2 separate regions of the Homo sapiens genome follow, and region 1 is linked to region 2. The links are contacts of gene promoters, found by promoter capture Hi-C in human tissues and cell types (Jung and others, 2019). All regions are on one chromosome and are shown on one strand. Each heading gives the region's core, a stretch centred on a gene start or on the middle of the fragment in contact. The rest is flanking DNA. Distances are from core to core; before and after follow the strand shown.

The links. Contacts are between HindIII fragments. The study calls those that stand out against the background at their distance.
Region 1: a fragment that was not itself captured here is called in contact with the fragment with the promoter of PAX9 in region 2 in 2 of the 25 tissues and cell types used here (mesendoderm cells and thymus).

What each region holds. Positions count from the first base shown.
Region 1 is chr14:36,712,696-36,715,395 of GRCh38, forward strand. The region is part of intron 6 of SLC25A21 (solute carrier family 25 member 21); the gene reads right to left. Among named protein-coding and RNA genes, the nearest start is that of PAX9, 52 kb to the left of the region's middle. The HindIII fragment of the contact is 4,626 bases long and covers 1-2,700 here.
Region 2 is chr14:36,660,526-36,663,313 of GRCh38, forward strand. PAX9 (paired box 9) reads left to right here and starts at 1,335. Exons shown (of 4, transcript NM_001372076.1): 1 at 1,335-1,568; 2 at 2,372-2,788. The coding sequence starts at 1,565. RefSeq lists a promoter at 69-1,266, a cis regulatory region at 526-1,038 and enhancers at 1,803-2,314, 2,315-2,788. The HindIII fragment of the contact is 9,466 bases long and covers 1-1,419 here.

The DNA.
Region 1 (2,700 bases), core at 189-2,688, 52 kb after region 2:
AATTACAATAAGCTTAAGAAAACCCTCCTTTGTAATATGAAAAAACCATGGTAGAATACATCTTAAAACAATAAGACATATCATACAGGAAAACCAAAAAATTTTCTGAAGGTTAAAGTTTACTTTCTGTTTGACAACATGAGATTTTTTTGTGTTTCAGCACATTGACTTTCACCCCCAAATCATTATTTTTTGGTTTTCAAAAGAGATAGGACAAGTTGAGCAGAAACTCATTTTTGTTGGAAAGACCCTGGAAGTGCTGAGTAAACTGCCCAAGTACTGCTATCTTGCTTCAAGGAAGGCAGTCTAGAGGTGGGGGAAGGAGAGGGCAGCTTTCCTGGGGGTGGGAGGAACAGGACAGAGGTGAGGCTGCCTGACTAACACAGGTTCTCCCTGCACCCAACCTAAACCTTTTCTCCATCCTCACTCCTCTGAGGTCTTGAGGGCATGAGGGCGGAGGAGCTCCGAGGCCATCTAAGTTTTAGAGCAGCAGAGAAACCAACGGCTCTAAAATAAAGTGCAAATGACAATGGCTTTCCCTAAAAACATGGGTATAAAGATGTTTCTATTGTTTAAAAATCTTAGTTTGCTAAGTCATTAGAATTAGGATGACTAAACTAAGGATTAATTTGGATAGCATCTTTCTCATCATCTTGAAAAGAGATTTCTCCTAGATCTCGGTGAGAGCTGACAAATATTCAAGTGGCATTTGCTAATTGTCTGTTTCCTGATTTTCACTGGCTTGGGTGCTGTGTGTGTATAAGCAAATGTAATGCATCATTTTAAACTCAAGTGCTTTGTTGAGTTCGGACTCTAGTTGTCAGTAATTAATTGGAGAGTAGCATAGTAATTGGAAATAGGAGCTCAGAGCTAGACAGTTCCAAGTTTGAGTCTCAGCAATACCACTTGCTACTTTGGCAAGTATTTTATCCTCTCTGATTGATTCTCACTTTATTAATTTCTAAATTTCTAAATAAGGATAATGATAGAATCTTCCGGAGGTCAGTGGCTTCTGCAGTGGCTCAAACCTGTAATCTCAGCATTTTGGGAGGCGGAGGCAGGAGGAGTGCTTGAGCCCAGGAGTTCAAGACCAGCCTGAACAACATAGTAAGACCCAGTCTCTACAAAAAATTAAAAAATTAGCCAGGTGCTGTGGCAAGCCTGTGATCCCAGTTACTCAGGAGGCTGACTAAGGAGGCTGACGCAGGAGGATCACTTGAGGCCTGGAAGGTGAGGCTGCAGTGAACTGTTATCCTGTCACTGCATAGTGACAGGCTCCAGCCTGGATGACAGAGTGAAAGCAAGACCCTATCTCAAAACAAAAAAAGAAAAAAAAATCTTCCTCACAGGATTGTTGAGATTGTTGAAAGAAGTCAATGAACTTAGTCCACTGTAAACAACTTAGTCCATTCTAAGCATTCACTATACATTTAGGTGTTAACGATAATGGCAATTATGCTGACAATCATAAAAATAGTTATAACAATAAAATGACAGGTGATTTCTTTGTTAGTTGAAGGCAGTGGCAACCAAAAGCTGGAATCTGATTTGAGGGAGAGAAAGCTTCTTTTTTTCTTCATTCCTTCTGGCTGTCCTTTCCTTTTCCCAGAGTCCCAGACCTTTGTGATAAAGTCCACCAGAAATGCATGCAGAATGCAAGATAACAGGTCTGCTTCCTCTGAGACCCAACCAAATTCAATGCTTGGGGTAGAGATCTTGTTCCAGGTACAGTGCCTCACCCAGGAGCTTTCCTCTCTGGAGCAGTAAATCCTATAAATTGGCCTCTTCCTTATCCCTCAAGGTGAGTACCCTGGCTAAGATCTCTGCATATGGCAAGTCTGTGGGCTGTAGAAGTAAGGCCATACGGGAAGAAAGGCTGGCAATGGAAAAGCACATGAATTGGGCTTCCCCCTCTATATGGCTTTCCAGCCTAGAAAACACATTTGTATACGTGATCAGGTAGCTGGAACACAGGAAGTGCTCAACACCTTTAGCCATTATCATACGTGCTCAGTACTTTTTGGTGTCATTTAATCCTCTCAGTAATTGTGTGAGATATGTCTTATCATGATCCCTATTTGGCAGATAAGGAAACTAAGAGTTAGAAGTTAAGTTACTCACCCAAGATTACAGAGTAAGTGGTAACAACAGAGTTCCAACTGAGGTTCCTTGGACTCCAAATCTGTACTTTTACACTCTTGGTGGTTCTGCCATCCTAACATATCTGATTGCTTCTCTCAGCAACCTTGTAATGTGGGCAGCTGGTATATCTCATTTTTCAGGTGAGGAAACCAAAGATTGTTAGGCAACATGCCTAAGATAAAATGCTGCTGATAAATGGCTTAAGCAGAATTCTGCATCTAATCCAATGTTGTTCTTTACACACTCATTCTTATTGTACATAGGTAATAAGAGTTTCAGAGTTTGACAATCCAACTGATATAAGTAACAGATGCATAATAGTACAAATATATTTTTCTGGCAAATGGAGGCCTTGGGATAAAGAAAACCAGAACTCAATTGCCTATAAAAATAAGAAGTAATAGTATGATAGTGTGTTTTCTTTCTTCATTCAGGGACATTGTTTCACACATATGTAAGCAAATATTTAATTAGAAAGGCAAAACATGACTTCCACTAGGATGCTTAAATAGGAAAATATAGAATAATTTTGACTAGATATCTGTAAACACATGGAAT
Region 2 (2,788 bases), core at 85-2,584:
ATGGCTGATCATAGTTTTTTCCTGGGTTCTTGCAACTTACTGACCTGAGATCTGGGACCAGTCAGCTTCTCTGGGTGTAGACCGCAGCCACACACATCCCTGGGGACTGTTGGGGAAGCAGCCTGAATCCTGTGTGCACAAGGAGCCTTCTGGATTGTCAAGTAGCAGTAACAGAGTTCACGACCCCAAGCAGTACAAACTCCCAAATTCACGAAAATATTTCTCTTCTTGTTTATTATTTTGATTCACATTCTCCACAACCCTAACTGCAAATATTAATAACTTTGGCTGCAAAAAAGCATACGGTACACTTTAGATTAGACTTACAGTGAATAAAAGTGAAAATTCAGAAGTAGGCAGAACGACAGGGCCTCTGGAGCTTAATGGAAGACGAGGGAATTACATCCATGTGCAGCGTCGGTGTCCACTGTCTTGGGACTAAGTCTCTTTCATATTTAAACAAAACTCTTTCGAGAGGGCTCGCTGGTTTGGAGAACCCTCACAAACGCTGCCACCGAGGGCCAGGGGCCCAGGACAGTGGCTGAATGTGGCAGAGCCTTGGGCTCCGTAGTGAGTGCCCCACGCACTGGCAATTGGTCGACTTGGGGCTGTGCGCTAGCGTTAGCCGCCTGTGGTTCAGTTCCCCGCACACGGCGTGGCCCGTGCCTCGAGCCTGTGTGGCTAGTGGTTGGCCGGTCCACCTGGACTGGGGGGTCGCCGCAGGAAGCTGGCGGTAGGAGGAACCTCCCTGGCCTTAACAGTGGCCCCCACCTGTGGCTCGGGCTCCCCGCAACCTCCTGGTTTCTTTGGCCGGCCTATCTTCTCACACCTGCGCTCTCGCCACCTGGCATGGACTGAAGTGAGGTAGAATCGGCAGGTGACACAGATCCTCTCCTGACAGTCCCCAGAGGCCCGCATGACAGATTTTGCTAAGACAACTCCCTCACCCCTGTGCACGGTGGCGCCCGCCTCCCACCTATAGCCTTAACTTCAATTCTGAGATGTCCATCGTTCCCCGGAGGAGGTCTCCTCGGGCCCCTTCTCCCTTCGAGTCATTCACATTCAGACCAAACGCTTTCATTTGTTTATTCAGCATTTTACCAGCCTGATTTTGCTGTCTTTTTGTGCCGCTTCTGGGAAGATGTCAAACACCCATTTTCATTGTATTTAGTCACCCAGGTGGGGAGCTAGCCTGAAAGAGACAGCGGAAGGAGTTTCCTGGACTGCGCTGTCGCTCACCGACCCGCACCAATCACCATGCAGCTTGCCCTCGGACCCGCCCCTTTTAGGGCGTGTCCCCAGTGAGTGATAGACGGAGCCGCCCTGCCCTGCTCAGCCCAGCCCACGTTGCTGCTTAGATTGAAATGCAGAACTCAAGCCTCTTTCATCGGGGCACAGACTTCCTTTTACTTCTTCCTTTTGCCCTCTCGCCTCCTCCTCCTGGGAAGAAGCGGAGGCGCCGGCGGTCGGCCGGGATAGCAACAGGCCGGGCCACTGAGGCGGTGCGGAAAGTTTCTGTCTGGGAGTGCGGAACTGGGGCCGGGTTGGTGTACTGCTCGGAGCAATGGGTGAGTGGCGGCGGGGGACTCTGTCAGAGCCGGGAAGGGAGGGAGGGAGCGAGCGGGCAAGGGAGGGAGGGAGGGAGGGAGCGCGAGGGCGCGCGCCACTAGGCGCTCACATTCTCTATTGACTTTGCTCGTGTTCCTACAAGTTGTAGGAACACGCTAAGGGTCAGCGGCGCACAGCAGTTCAATGTGAACGCTGGCTACTGGGTGGCTGTTGATGCCATTTTCTGATTTTAAGAGAAGGGAGCTGTGGCATCAGCGAGCCCCTCAGCCCGAGTAGCAAACCAAGTTTTGTTTCACACGCGCGCACACATGCAAACAAAACAGGAAAAGAAAAGAAAAGAAAACAAACAACAACAAATAAAACACCCTCTAGCTTCCCCTAGACTTTGTTTAACTGGCCGGGTCTCCAGAAGGAACGCTGGGGATGGGATGGGTGGAGAGAGGGAGCGGCTCAAGGACTTTAGTGAGGAGCAGGCGAGAAGGAGCACGTTCAGGCGTCAAGACCGATTTCTCCCCCTGCTTCGGGAGACTTTTGAACGCTCGGAGAGGCCCGGCATCTCACCACTTTACTTGGCCGTAGGGGCCTCCGGCACGGCAGGAATGAGGGAGGGGGTCCGATTGGACAGTGACGGTTTGGGGCCGTTCGGCTATGTTCAGGGACCATATGGTTTGGGGACAGCCCCAGTAGTTAGTAGGGGACGGGTGCGTTCGCCCAGTCCCCGGATGCGTAGGGAGGCCCAGTGGCAGGCAGCTGTCCCAAGCAGCGGGTGCGCGTCCCTGCGCGCTGTGTGTTCATTTTGCAGAGCCAGCCTTCGGGGAGGTGAACCAGCTGGGAGGAGTGTTCGTGAACGGGAGGCCGCTGCCCAACGCCATCCGGCTTCGCATCGTGGAACTGGCCCAACTGGGCATCCGACCGTGTGACATCAGCCGCCAGCTACGGGTCTCGCACGGCTGCGTCAGCAAGATCCTGGCGCGATACAACGAGACGGGCTCGATCTTGCCAGGAGCCATCGGGGGCAGCAAGCCCCGGGTCACTACCCCCACCGTGGTGAAACACATCCGGACCTACAAGCAGAGAGACCCCGGCATCTTCGCCTGGGAGATCCGGGACCGCCTGCTGGCGGACGGCGTGTGCGACAAGTACAATGTGCCCTCCGTGAGCTCCATCAGCCGCATTCTGCGCAACAAGATCGGCAACTTGGCCCAGCAGGGTCATTACG